Regions from separate parts of the Homo sapiens genome. Here all the other regions are linked to region 1. The links are contacts of gene promoters, found by promoter capture Hi-C in human tissues and cell types (Jung and others, 2019). All regions are on one chromosome and are shown on one strand. The core of a region is centred on a gene start or on the middle of the fragment in contact, and the rest is flanking DNA. Distances in the headings are between cores, read along the strand shown.

Region 1 (3,511 bases), core at 483-2,982:
TTAAGCATTCAGCTGGCCACGCAACGCAAGAAGCAATAAGAACACAAAAACCCTACCCTGTTCCTCCTCTATCCGTGGCCTTTGCCACCACCTCCACAACCTAGTTCAGATTCCTCTTCTTTTCTCAAGGGAACGTCTAAAGCTCTCAAGTCCGTTTTGGCAGGGCGATTTTGTAAGTCTGAAACATTTCAGTGTGTCTCTCGATCTCAGGCAGCTCAAAAGAAAAGATCTGCTGGCTGCGTGAAGGTGCATTAGAAACCTGCTGCTACCTTGCAGCCTGGGCTGAGCATATGCTCCGGAACTTGCTTCTCTTCCAACATCCTGCACCTCAGGTCAGCATTCCTTCTTTAAAAGGCCTTGTTGGGTAAGAGCATGTCCACCAACAGAACCCTGTAATTCTCCCTTGTTTTCTCGGACTCCCCTGCGTGCTGCAGAAGCCTGGGCGTTAGTGGGGTAGTCCCGAGTGGAACTGGGCCGAGGTAGGTGCCGGGACGCACTACCTGGATGGGGCCAAATTGGAAGGAGATTCGCCCTGACTGAGGTACAGGTGTTTCTTCTCCCCACATGCTGGAACCCAGGAGGCTCCAGGTGCTTCCCCACGAGACATGCCTCGGTATGCAGACTGAGGCCAAGTTCTCGGCGCCCTCAGCCCCGCCAGTAGCGGAACTCCTGCCCGCTGAGCGAGGGCCCTCATGAGAAGGGAAGGTCGCGTGGACAGGCTGCCAGGGGCAAGCGTTTTTAGATTACTTCCTCCTTCTTGGCCCCAGATGCACTTGTGAGTTGGGGGTGTGCGCGGTGGGGTGGGAGGGTGCTTGTGCCCAAAAAGTCTGGGAACGAAAGCTACTGCTGGCTCGAACCCGGACTAGCAAAGTGCGGAAAGCCCGTGGCACAGGAGTGGGTGCCAGGCAGCCCGCACGCAGGTGACCGGCGGACCCCCTCCCCAGGCCCGGGCGGCGGCGGGGCGGGGTGGGGTGGGACTGACCCCTGGCTCCGCCCCGCGGCGCCCCCCGCTGGGCCCCGTTTCCTCCCCCCCCCTCGCGTCCCCGCCGCCCGCACTCACAGCGCTTGGGTGAAGGCGCTGAGCCCCTCGGGCACGGCCGTCAGCCCCTTCCCGGAGCAGTCCACCCGACGGTCGCCGTCGCAGCTGCAGGGCGCCGCGCAGAGAGGCGGCGCCGCGCCGCTGGGCCCGGCCGAGCCGAGCAGCCCCAGGGCGAGGAAGCAGAGCAGCCCTAGCGGGCCCGGCATTGCTGCGGCCGCCTCCCGCGCCGGCCTCTCCCGCGGCGCTGCTCGCTCCGCTGCCCTCCGATGTCCCCCGCCGCCCCCGGGCAGCCGGCCTGCGGGCTGGAGCGGGGGTCTCTTCCTCGGCGGTCCGCGCGGGCTCGGCCCCTTCAGCAGTCCGCCGCAGCGGCGCAGGGACGCGGCGCTCCGGAGTTTCGCCCTTCCCGCTGCTCCATGGACGCGCAGAGGCAGCCCCGCTCCTCCGGCGGCTCACGCCAGCCGGGCCGGCCCGGCGCAGCGGCGGGGGCCGCGCTCTGCCATCGCACCGGTCTCCCTGTCCCTGGCCTCTCAATGCAGCGGCTCTTCAAGGTTGCAGAGCGCAGCCTTCAGCCATGCCGGCCACTCGCCCCAGCCCCCGCCGTGGCTCTCGCACAAACACCCAGACTCTGGCTCGCTGTCTCCCAGCCGCGGCTCAATCTCTTCCCGTCCTTTTCCCTTCTAGGGTTGCACGCTCTGGTTCCCAAACCCCCGGCCGCTGGCTTATGCAAATCACTTAGGTACATGCAAAAGTATCCCTTCTCCCGGAGCGCCATTGGCCCGGGGAGGTCTCGAGCTCATTACTATGCAGAGAGGAGAGCCGCCATTGGCCAAGAGGAGGACCAGAGGGGCGTGTTTCTCGGGCGTGAGTGACAAGGTGGTGGTGGTTGTGGTGGTGGCGGCGGTGGTGGTGGTGGTGGTGGCGGCGGTGGTGGTGGTGGTGGTGGTGGTGGTTCAAGGCAAAATCTTGACTTGGCTGGATTTGTCTGGCAGGTTGTGGATTGAAGGTAGAAGGATAGTAGGACAAGGGGTCTAGTTTTTCCCTCCCCCACCCGTCTTTTTGTTCCCTCCGCAGAAATTGGATCTCCTAAATTGGATGACCTGGTAAGTAGAACTTCCCTCCAGCGTTCAGTTAAGTTTTAAATGACTCTCCGCTGTTCCAAAGGGCGAGGACGTCTGGAGCTCTGCAAACGGAAAAAAGATTTTGAAGAGGAGGAAAAAAGTTTCCCTCGATCTGACACACATCTTTGGGTTTTAGCTATACACTAAGTTAAAAGTGTACCCTCTCCAGTGCCTCACTTCACCTGGGATCTTTACACCTATCTTGATACACATTTGGTAGCTAAGTCTTAGCAATTCATTCTCCCCAGTCCTCTCTCTGTATTTGGTGTTTTTGGTGACTGCAAATTAGACTCCTTTCTCACGCACTTTAAAATCCTGAAACACAGGAATTTTGTAAAAGGTCAGAGAAAGTGATGTTTCTGAACACTGGACAATTTCCAAAACATCTGAGTGGGAGGTGACTACGGCTGAGAAGCCAGCAGCAACGTTGGTGTTAGGTAATTATCAGCATTCCCTCCTCTTCTGGATTTTGAGTCCCTGTGGCCTAATAGACCCCACGGAATCATTACCTGTACCAACTACGGCTTTAAGGGTACTTCGTTTCTTGCTCTCTGCCATGGCGTTGAGTCGTTTTACTCTATAATGGAGACATTTTTAATGAATACATTAAAACAAGCAGGATTCGGCCGGGCGCGGTGGCTCACGCCTGTAATCCCAACACTTTGGGAGGCTGCGGCGGGCGGATCACCTGAGGTTGGGAGTTCTAGACCACCCTGACCAACATGAAGAAACCCCGTCTCTACTAAAAATACAAAATTAGCCGGGTGTGGTGGCAGATGCCTGTAATCCCAGCTACTCGGGAGGCTGAGGCAGGCGAATTGCTTGAGCCCGGGAGGCGGAGGTTGCGGTGAGCTGGAGATCGCGCCATTGCATTCCAGCCTGGGCAACAAGAGCAAAACTCTGTCTCAAAAAAAAAAAAAAAAAAAAAAAAAAAAAGCAGGATTTAAAGATAATTATCATATAAAGTTGACTAGCCATCGTATGTAAATAAAACTTAGGACAATGGAAACAGGTTGATGCAGACCTATAAGTTTAAAATGAAAAAATTTTATCATCTTTGTATTTGGGAGTTTATCTAAAAGATAATGTCAGGTTGGGCACATAAGTCACATACAGTAAATCTGTCTAGAAGCTAGAGAGTTAATAAATAAACATATGCCTTCATTTCAAGTTTTAGGAATGACATATCTCCTCTCACTGCAGGGCTGAAAGACAACTTAAAGACCCCCAGAAAACTCTGGTTTTATAGATAAGAAATCTGAGGCTCGAGAGAGAGTGTGTTCTGCCCAACATCATCACGGAACAGCTCCTGGGCTCCTGGCTCCTAATCTGGTACTCTTAGAGCCTTCCCTAA
Region 2 (3,511 bases), core at 548-3,047, 440 kb before region 1:
AGATCTGCCTTAAAAGAGCTCCTGAAGGAAGCACTAAGGACAGACAGTTACTAGGCACTACAAAAACACACTTAAATACACAGACCAGTGACACTCTTAAGCAAACACACAAACAAATCTGCATAATAACCAGGTAATATCATGATGATAAAATCAAACCCACATATATCAATACTAACCTTCAATGTAAATGGTATAAATACCCCAATTAGAAGACACAGAGTGGCAAGTGGAATAAAGAATCAAGACCCATTGGTATGCTGTCTTCAGTGTCTGCAGTGACACCCATGGGCTCAAAATAAAGAGGTGGAGAAAAATCTATCAAGCAAATGGAAAACAGAAAAAAGTAGGCATTGGAATCCTAATTTCAGGCAAAACCGACTTTAAACCAACAAGGATCAAAAAAGACAAAGAAGATCATTACATAATGGTAAAAGGTTCAATTCAACAAGAAGACCTAACTATCCTAAATATATATATATGTATCCAATACAGGAGAACCCAGATTCATAAAGCAACTTCTTAGAGGCCTTCAGAGAGACTTAGACTCACACAATAGTAGTGTGAGACTTCAACACCCCACTGACAGTATTAGACAGATTGCTGAGGCAGAAAATTGACAAAGATATTTAGGACATGTACTCAGCACTGGATCAAATGAACCTGGTAGATATGTACAGAACTCTCCACCCAAAAGCAACAGAATATACATTCTTCTCATCACTTTATGGCACATAATCTAAAATCGACCACATAATCAAACACAAAACCCTCCTCAGCAAATGCAAAAGAATTGAAATCATAACAACCACTCTCTCAAACCACAGCACAAGCAATTAGAAATCAGAAAATCAGAAATTTGCTCAAAACTATACAATTACATGGAAATTGAGTAATCTGCTCCTGAACGAGTTTTGCGTAAATAATGAAAGTAAGGCAGAAATCAAGAAGTTCTGTGAAATTAATGAGAATAAAGATACAACATACCAGAATCTCTGGTATACAGCTAAGGTAGTGTTAAGAGGGAAATTAATAGCACTAAATACATCAAAAAGTTAGAAAGGTCTCAAGTTAAGAATCTAACATCACAACTAAAGAACCAAGAGCAAACTAACCTCAAAGCTAGCAGAAGACAGGAAATAACCAAAATCAGAGCTGAACTGAAGGAGACTGAGACACAAAAAAACATTAGAAACAACAACAACAAAAAAAACAGTGAATCAAGGAATTGGTTTCTTGAAAAAATTAATAAAATAGACCACTGGCTAGACTAACAAGAAAAGAGAAAAGATCCAAACAAACACAAATAGAAACAACAAAGGAGATATTACCACTGGGGGACTTCACAGAAACACAAATAACTATCAGAGAACATTATAAATACTCCTATGCACAAAAATTAGAAAAGCTAGAAAAATGGATATATTATTGGACACATACTCCATCCCAAGAAATTGGGAGGAAGGAAGAAATTGAGTCCCTGAACAGACCAATAACAATCTCTGAAATTGAATCATTATTAAATAGCCTACCAATCAAAAATAAAAAGCCAGAAGGATCCACAGCCAAATTCTACCAAATGTACAAAGAAGAGCTGGTACCATTCCTACTGAAGCGATTCAACAAAAAGTTTAAAAAATGAGGAGAAAGGACTCCTCCCTTACTCATTCTATGAAGCCAGTATCATACCTAAACCTGGCAGAGACATGACAAAAAAAAAAACCTTCAGGCCAATATCCTTGATGAACATCAGTGTAAAAATCCTCGCAAAATACTGGCAAACCAAATACAGCAACACATCAAAAAGCTTATTCACCACAATCAAGTAGGCTTTATCCCTGTAATTCAAGGTTGGTTCAACTTACACAAAACAATAAGTGTGATAAACTTAACAAAAGACAAAAACCACATGATTATCTCAATAGATGCAGAAAAGGCTTTTGATAAAATTCAACACACCATCATGTTTATAAACTCTCAATAATCTAAGTATGGAAGGAACATACCTCAAAATAATAAGAGCCATCTATGAAAACCACAGCCAACATCATATTGAATAGGCAAATTTGGAAACATTTCCCTTGAAATCTGGCATAAGACGTGTGTGCCCTCTCTCACCACTCCTATTCATAGTACTGGAAATCCTGGCCAGGGCAATCAGGCAACAGAAAGAAATAAAGGTATCTATACAGAAAGAGAAGAAGTCAAACTATCCTTTTTGCAGACAACATAATCTTATATCTAGAAAACTTCATAGTCTCAGCCCAAAAGCTCTTTAAGCTGATAAATAACTTCAGCAAAATCTCAGGATAAAAATAATCAGTATACCAAAATCACTAGCACTCCTATACATCAACAACAGTCAAGCTGAGAGCCAAATCAGAAACTCGATTCTATTCACAATTGCCACAAAAAGAAAAAAATACCTATGAATACAGCTAAAAGATATCTGCAAGGAGAACTACAAAACACTGCTCAAAGAAATCAGAGATGAAACAAATGAAAAAACATTCCATGCTCATGAAGAAAAACAATAAATGTCATTAAGATAGCCATAATGTCCAAAGCAATTAATAGATTCAGTGCTGTGCCTATCAAACTATTAATGGCATTCTTCACAGAACTATAGAAAATACTTTAAAATTCATATGAACCAAAAAACAGCCCTAACAGCCACGAATATCCTAAGCAAGAAGAATTGAGGAGAAGGAACTCCCTCTTCTCCAAAGCTGGAGGCATCATGCTACACAACTTTAAACTATACTATAGGGCAGCAGTAACCAAAACAGCATGGTACCAGTACAAAAACAGACAAATAGACCAGTGGAACAGAATAAAAGCCCAGAAATAAAGTGGTACACCTACAACTAGCTGATCTTCAACAAAGCTGACAAAAATAAGCAATAGGAAAAGGATTCCCTATTCAATAAATGGTGCTGGGATAACTAGCTAGCCATAAGCAGAAGATTGGAAACAATAGGAAAAGGTCTCCCTATTCAATAAATAGTGCTGGGATAACTAGCTAGTCATAAGCACAAGATTGAAAATGGATGCCTTCTTTACACCTTATACAAAAATTAACTCAAGATTAAAGACAAAAATTTAAAACTCAAGACTATAAAAACCCTGGAAGACAACCTAGGCAATACCATTCTGAACATAGGAATGGGCAAAGATTTCATGCTGAAGATGCCAAAAGCAATTACAACGAAAGCAAAAATTACAAATGGGATCTAATTAAACTAAAAAGCTTCTGGACAGCAATAGAAACTATTAACAGAGTAAACAGACAACCTATACAAATGAGAGAAAATATTTGCAAACTATGCATCTGACAAAGGTCTAATACCCAGCTTCCATAAGAAAACTTAAGCAAATTTATAAGAAAAAGCAAACTACATTAAAAAGTAGGCAAATGACATGAACACTTTTCATAAGAAGACATACATGCAGCCAAAAAGCATATGAAAAAAAGCTCAACATCACTGATCATTAGAGAAATGCAAATCAA
Region 3 (3,511 bases), core at 365-2,864, 380 kb before region 1:
AACCTCTGGCTGAAAGGAAAGGGGACTTCAATAGAAGTCAGGTCTCCATTGGGATAGAACTGGGGTGCTTTATATCATCTGAACTCTCACAATGATGTGCACAAAATGGCATTTACCACGTTATTCTTTCTACTTTGTTTGTGCCTGGATATGACATCTTCAGAACAGACTCAGTAGCTGCCTTAAACAATGTCCCTCCCTTTCATATCTTTGTTTCTCCACTGGAAAAGTATCTTACTCTTGTTTCAAAAATAATTAGTTGGTGAGTGAGTGAATGGAATGAATAAATGCACACAATAAATAATGGAGAAAAGAGATTAAACAATAGAAGAGGGGTAGAAAAAGGAAAGTAGGAACAGATTAAAAGTAAACTTTGCTCTCCATGCAGATTTTTCAAGGAAGCTTATGACTGCTCTTGGTTAGATGCCTAAAACAATAATAGCTTGCTGATGGTGCCACGTTAGACATGCCTTCCTTGGGAAACTAGTACCCACCTCGCACTTTGCCATTCAAGTAGGGTTATTAGTTTCAAAAATGTTAAATGCATGAGTCTAAAATGAGAATGAGAATAGCTATTTTTGGTTCTTGGCTGTCATCTCAGTTGTTAGGTGGTTGGTTGGATGAACAAAAAAACAGTAGATTCCAGCATTTCATGTAGTCTTCATATACAGAAGGCAAGGAATAAATGTTTAATGAATAAATCATGCCTAAATCTTTGTAAAGGACTATAAACCAGCAGATAAATACAATAATTATTAGAATCTTTCACCATTATAAACTATGTTCAACTAAATCAAAATGGCAATAACTTTCAGGACAAAAGTGCATGTCATTTTCCACATCTGTATTTTCTCAGATGCTTGTCATTATTTTGTCAGCACATCATCATCTAGACAATATTTTTTTATGCAACCATGTGAAATGCTCAGTAACTTTACTCACTTGATAATGATGAATACTTTCCTAGGACAAAAGAATAAGAGTAGGTAAAGAAATTCTCATTGTCAATTTTGTCAAATACATGTAAACATGGAGCAGTATGTAAAAAGACAACCTTTCGAGAATTTAAAGCTTTGATTTAGCACAAAGTTTTTACAGACTAGGCCAAAATGCCTCATCTCATGTCCTTTCTCCCCCACCAAAAAAAAGAAAATCAATGAAAATAATTTTCTGGAGCCCTTTTAGGAAAGGTGATATTATTGAATAAATGAATTTTATGACATGACTTAATCCATTGGGAAACAGTTATTGTAAACTACATTCTATCATACACTGTCATTTTCAATGATTATACCAAGTTAGGATGTTTTTTCAGAATGTATCCTACGAAGTAAATCCCAAAGAAAGTACAATTTCTGTCAATCAAACAGAGTATCTTTCTTGAATACTAATAATACGTGCATGGCACTGTACCAGGCATTTTGTTGGGTTTAGATTTGGGTTTCTACTTTATGAAAAAGTACCTTTTGTAATTGCTGTATGTGGGTAAATGTAAATACTTGAATTGGCTTCCTTTAAATAATCTAGGCCAATAAAAATTCCATAAAGCGAAGGAACAGACTGAAAAGTAACCCCGGACTTTTGGCATTCCAACTGAGGGAACATGACAGTCAATATATGCCAACAGCAGTTCAAAGAGGGTGGATAACAGGAAGGTGATCCCCAGGATGATGCAAAGCATGGTCAAGATGGGGAAATACTCATCTACCAATATTATCTTCAGACAAAATGAATCCACTCCTCAAAATTTACACAGGCTACCGTTGTGTAAATAGGTGTGGCAAAATAATATAAATTTAATTAAGATTATGCAATGTCGTGCAGCCCTTCCTCCCCATCCTCAAGCTAATCCAACTCAGACACATGCCATTTCTATGACATGCCATTCTTCCCTATTCCTGGCCATCCCCTAAATCAGTCCCTTTCTCACTTGTTTGTTCAGGACCGCTTCTTTCTCTTCCTGCTTAACCTTTTGTTTGCTGCATGTATCTCTCTTGCTTTTATATCTCCTGGACCTTTATTCTGACTACAGACAACCTGTGCCAAGTCTTCATGTCTTTTTGGCTGCTTTTTGGCCTTTCTTGCCCTTTTCACTTGACTTACTAACATTTTTCCTCTTCCCTTCCAACCACCACACCTGCTACATCCTCCCATTGATCTGGCATCCTCTGCAGCGCTACAGTAGAAATTCTCTCCCAGCCTCTGTTCTGTGAAACCACTACCAGTACCTCATCCCCAAGCCCTGGCATTATAATAAACCAAAATAATTATATGCTCCTCACTCAAATGAACGAGTTTTGCACTCTTGATGGCCCATCAGGAAAGAGAAGTGGAAATTCTCTCCCACAAACTCTTAACATAAAGTAAGGCAATTTCTACTTTTTGTTGCAGATTCTATTTTTAGTAGTAATACATGCATTATATTAATAAAACAAAATGAACAACACTTGTGTAAGATGTCACTACTGTTTTTTATGCTGGACTGTAGCAATGCATGGCTTTATCATACTATAATTCTGGTAAGATAATATTGAGAAATTCAGACAATCTTCTCTAAAATGGCAAAACTCAAACCCTGAAAATTCCTTTTTTAATGAGTTGGACAACTAAATAAACTGGAGAGTCCAGGGAATTATTATTTACATAAGCTGATCTGTGAGTATGTTTGTGTTCATGACACAGAGAAAGGGAGAGAAAGAAAGACTTGGTGGGAAGGGTACAGTGTCATTTTAAAAAATATTTGTCAACTATATTTTATATTATTAATTAACTATCCTGCTTGTAACTCTACCAGTCTAACCTTTGAAAACTAAGAAGGCTTATATCATTGCCATTGCCACTGTCATGTTGAGCTTCTTATAGGCATAAATGGTGGCGTAATCAAGGTCGTATCTTTACTGTTAACTCAGCACCTGACACACAATTACGTCTCAGGAAATTTTAATGAAAGGGAATATGTGCTAAGTAAGATATTGTAGACTTCCATCTGAACAAGACAACAAAAGCTCTTTGACAACATTGTCAAAATTTATCAGTCCATAATTTAAAAGTTAACCTCATGGGAAACTCAGAGTGACTCTTCTTCCCCAAAAAGTCAAGCAGAAGAGAATAAAACTTCTAACCTTAGCTAGCGAGACATCCTTCTTTTCAGAACTGAGCCCAGCAGTTCAGATTTGTTTTTTTTCTAAGAATGTTTTATTTGCTGGCACCAACAAGTTGCATTAATACATGTAATGAGGGTTACACTGGTAAGAATAATGGGGTAAAACTGGAAACAAAAATCTGAAATATGAAATTCAACTTCAGGGAATGAAATAAAGAAGGCAAGAGGCAATAGGAAAAGGAGATAAAATAAATGTGGATCTTGGTGGTAGTCAACTTTTATCTTGTATAGCACTGCATGGAAGCTATATAACTGTTGAATAAAACTTATAAGGCCACAAGTTTATAGTAGAAAATATAAATAAATACTTTGGAAACTTTACGCCCAAAACGTTTAGGAAGAATTGGG

Evidence for each region. The method cuts DNA at HindIII sites, captures the fragments that hold promoters and counts their contacts. A contact is called where the count stands out against the background at its distance.
Region 2: a contact is called between a fragment that was not itself captured here and the fragment with the promoter of LGR4 in region 1, in 1 of the 25 tissues and cell types used here (H1 embryonic stem cells).
Region 3: a fragment that was not itself captured here is called in contact with the fragment with the promoter of LGR4 in region 1 in 1 of the 25 tissues and cell types used here (hippocampus).

Annotation. Positions count from the first base shown.
Region 1 is chr11:27,471,058-27,474,568 of GRCh38, forward strand. It overlaps LGR4 (leucine rich repeat containing G protein-coupled receptor 4), which reads right to left and starts at 1,733. Exons shown (of 18, transcript NM_018490.5): 1 at 1,061-1,733. The coding sequence starts at 1,245. It overlaps LGR4-AS1 (LGR4 antisense RNA 1), which reads left to right and starts at 674. Exons shown (of 4, transcript NR_131170.1): 1 at 674-775; 2 at 1,721-1,900; 3 at 2,111-2,139. RefSeq lists silencers at 847-906, 1,157-1,326, 1,457-1,506. The HindIII fragment of the contact is 14,571 bases long and covers 1-3,511 here.
Region 2 is chr11:27,033,795-27,037,305 of GRCh38, forward strand. No RefSeq gene overlaps it. Among named protein-coding and RNA genes, the nearest start is that of BBOX1, 5.3 kb to the right of the region's middle. The HindIII fragment of the contact is 7,203 bases long and covers 1-3,511 here.
Region 3 is chr11:27,096,086-27,099,596 of GRCh38, forward strand. The region is part of intron 5 of BBOX1 (gamma-butyrobetaine hydroxylase 1); the gene reads left to right. All of the region lies in intron 3 of BBOX1-AS1 (BBOX1 antisense RNA 1), which reads right to left. Among named protein-coding and RNA genes, the nearest start is that of BBOX1, 57 kb to the left of the region's middle. The HindIII fragment of the contact is 3,553 bases long and covers 1-3,391 here.